2 separate regions of the Homo sapiens genome follow, and region 1 is linked to region 2. Evidence: promoter capture Hi-C in 16 types of primary human blood cells and fetal thymus (Javierre and others, 2016). All regions are on one chromosome and are shown on one strand. Each heading gives the region's core, a stretch centred on a gene start or on the middle of the fragment in contact. The rest is flanking DNA. Distances are from core to core; before and after follow the strand shown.

The links. The method cuts DNA at HindIII sites, captures the fragments that hold promoters and counts their contacts. A CHiCAGO score of 5 or more calls a contact.
Region 1: a contact is called between a fragment that was not itself captured here and the fragment with the promoter of CD22 in region 2, in 2 of 17 cell types (monocytes and naive B cells). The highest score is 5.9, in monocytes.

Annotation. Positions count from the first base shown.
Region 1 is chr19:35,202,768-35,207,827 of GRCh38, reverse strand. It overlaps LOC105372379 (a long non-coding RNA gene), which reads right to left and starts at 2,707. Exons shown (of 3, transcript XR_935938.2): 1 at 2,552-2,707; 2 at 1,436-1,675. RefSeq lists enhancers at 2,048-2,217, 3,193-3,710, 3,711-4,228, 4,229-4,746. The HindIII fragment of the contact is 3,198 bases long and covers 1,249-4,446 here.
Region 2 is chr19:35,325,013-35,330,436 of GRCh38, reverse strand. CD22 (CD22 molecule) reads right to left here and starts at 1,250. Exons shown (of 14, transcript NM_001771.4): 1 at 1,207-1,250. RefSeq lists enhancers at 504-553, 624-673. The HindIII fragment of the contact is 19,927 bases long and covers 1-5,424 here.

The DNA of each region.
Region 1 (5,060 bases), core at 1,598-4,097, 120 kb after region 2:
TGTTAGAACTCTGCTCTAGACTAAGAGTTTGAGAGCCCAGCTTAAGCCAGCAAATGCCTCCTCACACTGCCACATTCTCTCTGCGAGGAAAAGAAAAAGTTTATTTCTCTTACATTATTATTTTTTTCTTTTTTTGAGATAGGATCTCGCTGTGTCACACAGGCTGGAGTGCAGTGGTGTGATTATGACTCACTGCAGCCTTGATCTCCCAGGTTCAGGTGATTCTCCCTCCTCAGCTTCCTTAGTAGCCAGGAATACAGGCACACACCGCCACGCCTGGCAAATTTTGTGTATCTTTTTAAAATTTTTTTGGAGATGGGGTCTTGCTATGTTGCTCAGGCTGGTCTCGAACTCCTGGGCTCAAGCGATCCTCCTGCCTTGGCCTCCCAAAATGCTGGGATTACAGGTGTGAGCCACCACACCTGGCCTCCTACAGTACTTTTCTTTTTCTTTTGAGATGAAGTCTCACTCTGTCACCCAGGCTGGAGTGTAGTGGTGCAATGTCCACTCACTGCAACCTCCGCCTCCCAGGTTCAAGTGATTCTCCTGCCTCAGCTTCCTGAGTAGCTGGGACTACAGGTGCACACCACCATGCCCAGCTAATTTTTGTATTTTTAAAAATAGAAATGGGGTTTCATCATGTTGTCCAGGCTGGTCTCGAACTCCTGACCTCAAGTGATCTGCCCATCTTGGCCTCCCAAAGTGCTGGGATTACAGGCCTGAGTCAACATGCCTGGCCTCCTACAGTACTTTTTAAGAGCAAAAACATTTTACCCCAGATGCCTTCCACTAGCCAGCCCCCAGCAGACTCCCCCTCCAAGTCAGTCACTGCTGTGACTTCTCCTTGGCCAGGAGTGTGTCCCAGCCTTTTCCAGAACCAATCACCAACAAGAAGACAGGAGAACTATGCCTGGCTTAGATCACTCAGAGGCTGAGGGTACTTTTTCTGAACACATGGTCAGAGCTAATAAACAGGCTAATAAAATTAAGGCTCTGCTTACAAAGAAGTAAAGGAAAATGGGCTTGCTTATTAATAATGCAGATTCCCAATTCCTGCTGCTAGTTGCACGGCTGCTTCTGTAGACACTCTGCCTCCGTCTGGCCTGGCACTTTGATCTTGTTTTTATGCCTCAGGATGAACGAACCTCAAACACCCAGGCTTCTTAGAATAGAAGGTCCTAGAGGAGGAGTGGTTTCTGAGAGAAGGAAGCACCTGCCCGCATCTCTTAAAAGGAAAGTACCTAAGCTTGACTGCCTGCTTATCTTTGAGGTTTTATTATCAATCAGGCCTTCTGGCACAAGTGATTAAAACCCAAACTAGCTTAAGTACAAAGAGAATGTATTGGTTCTTAGAATGGAAAGTCTCGGATTTCAGGTATGGCTGGATCCAGGTGCCCCTGCAATACACTCAGGATTATGCCTCTCTCCCTCTCACCTCTGCTGTCCTCAATATTGACTTCATTTTCATGCAGCAAAGATGACCTCCAGCAGTTCCAGGCTTAGAGCATAGCAGATAAGTAACCATAGCAGAAAAAGAAACACCACTTTCCCAATAGTTCCAGCAAAAGTCCTGCAGCTGTCTCTCATTGGCTTTACTTGGAATGGCGTGTTCATTTCTGGATCTGGGAAATGTAGTTGGCTGTGTCCGAATCACATAGACTAAGAGCAGGGGAGGCTGGTTCCCAAAGAAAATGAGAAGGGTAAACGAATGCCCGTCAGGCTAATCTCTCTCTTGTGTGTAGAGAGAGCCCCGGAGAGCATCAACCTGTCCTGTTTTACCATGAAGAGCATTCAAAAGCTAACAGGGTGATAGGGGTTTAGTAAGTTGGGAGTGGTCAGGGAGAGGTCTTGGAAGAGACAGTGTTGAAAGCAAAGCCTTGAGAGATAAGAAGTCAGTGTTTTAGGCGGCAGGACCTGTGAGGGCAAAACACCTGAGAAAAATCAATATTTGACAAATGAGTGGCTAAATGAATGAATGAATGAGTGAATGATTAAATGAATGAGTGGGTGAATGACTATAGACAGACACTGTAGACAAAGAGCCCCATCTTCTTGCTCAGAAGGACCCACCAGCCCCTGTAGTAATGGGAGAGCTGGAGTTGGGCTGCAGACCTTGCAGGGAAAATGGAGAGGGAGAGAAGGAGGAGGGGAGAGGAGGGAAGGAGGGAAAGAGCCACTCGGACTCCGCAGGAGCCAGGAGGAAGGGCCAGATGGACCCTACCTGGGAGACTACATCCAACGTTTCTCTCCTTGAGGGTCCTGGGCTGCCTGGAAACCCTCCCCTCTCCACAGCCTCCATTCCCTGCCCCTTCCCTCCCCCGCCTTACTCTCACTTCCTCTTTTCTGTTCCTCTTGCATACCAAGCTAGCTCTCGTCTCAGGCCTTTGTGCTTGCTGTTCCCTCTGCCTGGAACACCCTTCTCTAAGAACTTCACAGCCCTCAGGTCTCAGCCAAGAGTCCCCTCCACCAAGCAGCCCTCCCTGACCACCCCAACTGAATTACCCATCCCTCTACGCCCACAGCCTCTTCCAAATCACACCACCCTGCATACCTTCCTCTCTCTGAAAATGTCATGTTTGTGAATCTGTTGTGGTCACAGTTGTCACCCTGTCAGAGGCGTTTGAACCAGAGCAACCCCATCTTGAGTAGGGGCCAGGTAAAATGAGGCTGAGACTTACTGGGCTGCATCCCCAGATGGTTAAGGCATTCTGAGTCACAGGGTGAGATAGGAGGTCAACACAAGATGCAGGTCATAAAGACCTTGCTGATAAAACAGGATGCAATAAAGAAGCCAGATAATACCCATCAAAACCAAGATGGCCACGAGAGTGACCTCTGGTCGTCCTCACTGCTACACTCCCACCAGCGCCATGACAGTTTACAAATACCATGGCGATGTCGGGAAGTTACCCTCTATGGTCTAAAAAGGGGAGAAATGAATAATCCACCCCTTGTGTAGCATATCATCAAGAAATAACCATAAAAATGGGCAACCAGCAGTCCTCGGGGCTGCTCTGTCTATGGAGTAGCCATTCTTTATTCCTTTATTTTCCTAATAAACTTGCTTTCACTTTATGGACCTGCCCTGAATTCTCTCTTGTGGGAATCCAAGAACCCTCTCTTGGGGTCTGGATCGGGACTCCTTTCCTGTAACACTATTATTACTGACTTATGAATATTCTAGGGTTGTTGCGAAGTCTGGGTGCGAGTCAGGCACAGTGTTTACCTGCTTGGCCCTGCAGTGTCCAGCCAGGTTCGTGGCCTCCTGCCTCTGTGACCCTGTTCAAGTGACCTCCCTGCTCTGGGACTGTCTGTTCCCCCATAATATGGAGACCTCTATATTGCTCTTCTATACCTCATGTCTGTCTTTTACACACACACACACACACACACGTGTGTGTGCATGGCTGTGGTGCAGGTTTAATGACCTCATGCAGATGTCTAGAGCATGGTTCTAGGCAGAAAATGGAAAAGTATTTATAATATAATTAGTTCAACCAGCTACAATATAGACAGGGGTTTCCTGGCAGGCCATGTGACTTCAGTAATGGCCTGGGTCTGGCTTCGCCTTTAACCCTCTTCCTAGCCTCCCCTCAGCTCTCAAGGGTCAGCTAGGGGCCATCGCCCTGCATGTAGGGAGGCTGGACGGCAGAAAGCATGAACCCCATGATGCTCCCTGTCCTGCCCTGCCCATGCTGTCACCAAGTGGGGCAGCTAGACTGAAAGGGCTTCCACAACTCTGGGGTGGGCACCAACAGCCAGGGGAGCTGGAGATTGAAGGGTAACATTGCAGACTGGAATAGGAAGTTCCCTGGCCTCCAAGCCAGGCCTCACTAGGACTCTCCTGCCCTCAAATCTGGAAGCTCAGTGTCTTCACCCTTTAGGTCTCTGGGGGATAGGAGACAGAGACTTAGGAGGGTCCAGGGGAAAAGAATTTCCAAGTAATAACATGGAAAATAAAACAAAGCTACTAAACCAAAGGATATTGCTATCAACCACAGTAGCTTTCACACTTTTGTTGTTAACTGTAAGAGAGTCATTTGACATCACAACCTAGAATATATACTTTGAACCAAAAATAAAATCCTGAGCCCCCCAACTAACTAAGTGGACCCCCTTCTGGGCCAAAGGGACCCCAGAGACATCTGAACAACTGAATTCTAGCCATGAAGAAATGGGAGGTGCACATGCCTCATTCTAGCCCCTCCCTTCTGGAGTTTAGGCCCAACTGACCAACATTAACATTAAAATACAGATCACAGGACTGACAGAGTAGACTCTTTATGGCAATCAGATCCCAAATTCCAAGCTGACCCTGGTCACATGTTCTCTGAGCGCTGCCACTTAGGAGACTTCATCTGCATAACAAGGGCCTTGTCTTCTACAACCCCTTATGTTAGCTCAAGCATTCTTTTCTAAGGACTTCTTCAGTCTTTAGGCAAAGCTTAACTCTTCCAACCAAATGGCAATCAGAAAGTCTTTGAATCCGCCTGTAAGCCCTGTTCCCCACCCTCTGACTCAAGATATCCCACCTCTTTAGGCTGAACCAATGTACACCTTCCGTGTATTGATTTATGTCTTTGCCTGTAACTCCTGTCTCCCTAAAATGTATAAAACCAAACTGTAACCTGACCCCCTCAGGCACATGTTCTCAGGATCTCTTGAGACTGTACCCCAGGCCATGGCCACTCTTATAGGCTCAGAATAAACCTCTTTAAATATTTCACAAAGTTTGGCTTTTCTGTCAACAATACACACTCACAATAAGAGTTTACCAAAGTAACACTTACTTAAGGCTGGAGACAAACTCTGATACTCTGAAATTTCTTTTTTCTTCTACTTAATTCCATTTCAGAAAAAAATTGCTGGTTAGGACCTTCTAAATTGATCTCATGAACCACTAACGAGTCACTACTCACAGCATGCAAAGCTCTAATTACACACTAGAAAGTATGTTTTAACACCAGGGGAAAATGGGAAAGTTTTACTCATAGAATATTCCTTTGCATTACACTGAATGTATTTTACTTGATAGAAAATGCTGTACTTTTGCTTAAAGC
Region 2 (5,424 bases), core at 1-2,500:
GGTACTCATCATGTCACATGCAAAAAACATCTTCAAGGTCACATACACTTGAGAAAGGCAGGGTAAAAGAGTTAAGTAAGATTCTTTTTTTTTCTTTTGAGACAGAGTCTCATTCTTCTGTCGCCCAGGCTGAAGTGCAGTGGTGTGATCTCAGTTCACTGCATCCTCTGCCTCCAGGGTTCAAGTGATTCTCCTGCCTCAGCCTCCTGAGTAGCTGGGACTATAGGCATGTGCCACCACACCCGTCTGATTTGTTTGTTTGTTTGTTTGTTTTAGTAGAGATGGGGTTTCACCATGTTGGCCAGGCTGGTTTCAAACTCCTGACCTCAGGTGATCCCCCCAACTTGGCCTCCCAAAGTGCTGAGATGACAGGCGTGAGCCACCGCACCTGGCTTAAGTAAGATTCTTTACTGCAGGACTTTAAAAACCTTTCAGTAAACTCTATCTACACCATTAATCTCTAGACATGGGGATTAGAGTATAGTATAATACATTGTCCATACTTCTTTGGCCATGGGATCTATTTTACATGTTCCATAAAAAACTTAGCAGGGTTGCAGAGCCAGAGTTCTTTGAAATCCCCTTAAGGTTACCTAAGGGGTAACAAGGGCTGTGGCAAGGACTAGACTCCGTTCCCTGCAGCCAACACTTGCCTCCAGGAGCCGGGCCATTGTCCCTCCTCTGCCAGCACCCTCCAGCCACAACCTGCTCTGGGACGGGCTGGAGCATCCCAGCATGAGTGGGAGATGGGCGCCTCCAGAGCAGGACTGTGTGCTGCCTCAAGGAGCTCCAGGAGTCTCTGGAGCACAGGAGTAGGGCCCCAGGCCCGGGAATTGGAAGGCTGAGGGTGGGGTGGAGGTTAGGGACAGCAGTTATTATGCACAGAGGCTCAGGACAGGGCCATGCTGTCCAGACCTCCTCAGTCCAGGCCTGTTGAGGGCCTTGCAGAACCTTGGGGCTGACCTCCCTGGCTCCTTCTTCCCTCCTGGGCATCCAATAACCTACCCTACTCTCAGAAGACTCAGCAGGCCTGGCAAGGAGGATGCTCAAGACAGGGGTCTGTCTACAACCTGTTGTAACACCGGTAAGAGAGAGCCAGGGAGGTCCCCACTGTGTTCCCAGCTCTGGGAGGTATGCCTGGCCCATAACTGCTGTTCCGTAATAACTTGCTTGTTGAATGCAAAATAAAAGCAAAATGATTTTTACCTGTTTCCGCGTGTCTTCCCTCTTCAGGGACCCTGGCAGCATCTGAGAGCAAAAGGAGAAGTACAGTAAAGTCTCTGGTGACAGAGGTTTCCCCTCCATGGCCACACCCCCTGCTTCTCTATGGCTCTGAGGGGGACCAAGCAGCACCGTGATCTGGGGAGTGGGGAAAAGAGACGATTGAGGGGGATGCGGGCTCGGAGTCAGATTGGAAGACTCGAATACGTATGGGCAGTTCTTCCTTTCCGTGTATGGGTTTGCAATATCAGATCAGTTTCAGAATGGGCTCCTCCACAACTCCCCCTCTACCCAGCTCTCAGGAAATGCGAATGACTCAAGCCAAGCAGGAGAACTGCAGCCCGCTGAAAAAGGCACAGGCCTACCTGAAAGTATTTGTAGTTTAGTGACACCATCCAGTTATTACCATTTCCACTCTTTTCATCATAGGCATAAATGGTGGGGAATCTGACCACCTACACTGAAGCCCCCAAGGGTTGAGGGAGGAGCACATAGATATTGAGGAGGAAAAAGATATCTCGGCCGGGTGCGGTGGCTCATGCCTGGAATCCCAACACTTTGGGAGGCTGAGGCGGGTGGATCACTTGAGGTCAGGAATTCGAGACCAGCCTGGCGAACATGGTGAAATTCCGTCTCTACTAAAAATACAAAAAATTAGCTAAGTGTTTTGGCAGGCGCCTGTAGTCCCAGCTACTCAGGGGGCTGAGGCAGGAGAATCACTTGAGCCCAGGAGGCGGAGGCTGCAGTGAGAAGAGATCACACCACTGCAGTCCAGCCTGGGTGACAGAGTGAGACTCTGTCTCAAAAAAAAAAAAAGAAAGAAAGAAAGAAAGAAAGAAAAAGAAAAGATATCTTGTAGGACTGGGCATGGTGGCTCATGCCTGTAATCCTAGCGCTTTGGGTGGCCAAGGCGGGTGGATTGCCTGAGCTCAGGAGTTCAAGACCAGCTTGGGCAACATGGTAAAACCCCATCTCTACTAAAAAAAAAAAAAAAAAAAATCCAAAAATTAGCTGGGTGTGGTGGCGGGCGCCTGTGGTCCCAGCTACTCAGGAGGCTAAGGCAGGAGAATCACTTAAGCCCGAGAGGCTGAGGTTGCAGTGAGCAGATCGCGCTGTGGCACTCCAGCCTGGGTGACAGAGCCAGATCCTGTCTCAAAAAAACAAAAAAGATATCTTGTAGGAAGTGTTATTGAATGGAGAGTCTTTAGGCTGAAACCTCATCACCTTTATAATCCTGTAGCCAGCGAGTGTCTCAGGAGCAGAACAGACAGCATTGGAAGCCATGCACATCCTACAGATGAAGAGGGATGCGCTGAGAGGTCTTCACTCCAGCACCACTGCCCTCTATGGGCAGCTGGCCATAGGGAGGGAAACAGAGAGAGGGAAGAACACCTTCTTCCAAAAGCACCGATAGGGCTGGGTGTGGTGACTTATGCCTGTAATACGCTTTGGGAGAGCAAGGCAAGAGGATTGCTTAAGGCCAGAAGTTTGAGACCAACCTGAACAACACAGCAAAACTCTGTGGGGCTAGTCAACAAAAGCAAAAAATGAAAAGTAGCTGGGCATGGTGGCCCATGCCTGTGGTCCAAACTACTTGGGAGGCTGAGGCAGGAGGATCGCTTGAGCCTGGGAGTTCAAGGCTTCAGTCAGCCATGATAGCACCACTGCACTCCAGCCCAGGCAACAAAGTAAGACCTTGTCTCAGTAAATAATAAATAAATAAAATGAACAAAAAGCAGTGATGTTCTGGAAAGATGGAGTAGATGTATTTATTTATTCTGCCAAGTATAACTGAAAACCTTGAACGTGACAAGACAAGCATAAGAAGACTGAAAGATGGAGAGAAGCAGACTGGTTAGGAACCTCGGGACTTAAGGAATGGTGGTGAATTCCCTGGGATTTCTCTTTGCCTCATATATCTCAGGCTGAATACTGGAGAAGCCAACAACTGAAAATGCCAAGGGGCACAAACAAGAAAAAGTCCCAACAGAACAAGTTCTAGCAAAACTATGCTTTTCTAGCCAAAGAACGAGGAAAGGGGCATCCTAGAAAGACAGAGCTCTTTTAGTCCATACCTGCTCCGCTCCATCCAAGTTCCATCATCACCCTTGTCAGCAAAGGCCGGATGGAAAACCTAGACATTCACCTTCACCAGGCTGTAACAAAGAACCCTAGGCCACTCCCATACTCAGCCAGAGTGATGCTAGAGTTGGAGCTGGGACATTCCTCCCCACTGGGATCACCCTCCCCCGATGTGGTGTTGGTGGAAACCATGTGGGCAGCCTGGACATCCACTGCCACCCCAATGCAGAAATGAGGCATTCCACCCGGCCCCATTGGAGTAGTGTCAAAGGGGGCCTGGTGGAGAGTTGGGACTTTCGCCACCACTCAGTGGTAACAAGCACCCCCCTCTCTCTGCCACACACAGTGTCAGTGAAAGCCACATAGGGAGCAGTAATGAAGCATCCCTCCCACTCCCAGCCAGGGAGTTGTCATGGATTCCTAGTGGGGAACCTGAACTTCTACCCTTACCAAACAATAACATGGAGGCCTCATCTCTCCCAACCCCCCAGGTTCAGGAAAGGCTGGATGGAGAACCTGGACTTTTATCCCTGTCTGGAAGCAATCAGGCAGTGCCCTACTTTATTTCGCTGGAGCAGTATAAAGGGAAGCCCACTAAAACAAAATATTTAAAGAAGATCCAGAATCTTATAACACAGTGCCCAGAATATCCTGACTTCAATGGCAAATCACTTGTCATACTAGGAATCAGGCATTCTCAAACTGAATAACAAAAGATAATTAACAGACACAAACATCAAGACGACACAGATGTTAGAATTATCTGACAAAGATTTTGGAGCAGCCATCATAAAAGTGTTTCACTGAGAAATTATAAATGTGCTTGAAACAAATAAAATAATAAAAAGTATCAGCAAAGAAATAGAAAATATAAAGAAGAACCAAATGGAAACTTTAGAACTAAAAAATACAACTAAAAAATACAAGAGCTGAAATAAAAACCATAATGGATGGGCTCAATAGCAGAATGGAGAGTATAGAAGAAAGAAGCAGTGAAACAAAACGTATAACAATAGAAATTACCCATTCTGAACAATGGAAAGAAAATAGATGAAAGAAAATGGAACAAAGCCTCAAGGACATGAGTAACTATAATAAAAGAAGATCTAACATTTTGTCATTGAAGTCCCAGAAGGGGAGGAAAAGGAGGGTGGGCCTTAAAAAAATATTCCAAGAAGTAATGGCTGCAAATTATCTTCATTTGACAACACACACGCACAACATATGTCTACAGATTCAAGAAGCTGAGCGCATCACAAACAGGATAAACCCAAAGAAATTCATGCCAAGACACATCATAGTCAAACTTCTAAAAACAAGAGGCAGAGAAAATTCTCGAAAGCAACCACATAAAAATGCAAAAAATTAGCCAGTTGGGTGGTGCGTGCCTGTAGTCCCAGCTACTCAGGAGGCCAAGGCAGGAGGATCACTTGAACCTGGGAGGCGGAGGTTGCAGTGAGCTGAGATCCTGCCACTGCACTCCAGCCTGGGCAACAGAGCGAAACTCTGTCTTAATTAAAAAGTAAAATAAAATAAAAACAAAAAACCTCTGGAAGATAACATAGGAGAAAATCTGTGAGACTTAGAGCTTGATGAAGTGTTCTTAGACATGACACCAAAGGCATGATCCCTAAAAAAATCAATCCAACTTCATCAAAATTAATTTTTTTTTGCTCTGTAAAAGACCTAGTTAAGAGAATGAAAAGACAAATTACAGACTAAGAGAAAATATTTGCAAACCACATATCTGACAAAGGACTCCTATCTAGAACAAATATATAAAGAACTCTCAAATTCAACATAGAAACACTACATAAAAAAATCAAATCATCCAATTAGAAGACTGGCAAAAGATATAAAGAGAAATTTCACCCAAGGGGATATATGGATAGAAAATAATTATCTAAAAAGATATTCAACATCACTAGCCTTTAGACAGGTTAAGACCATGATGAGATATCACTACTAACATCTATAAGAACAGCTAAAATAAAAGATAGTATCAAATACTGGAAAGATGTATGGAAACTAAATCATTTATATATTGCTAGTGTGAATATAAAATTGTCCAGCCACTCTGGAAAAAAGTCTCAAAACAGTTCCTCCAAAGATTAAGCATAG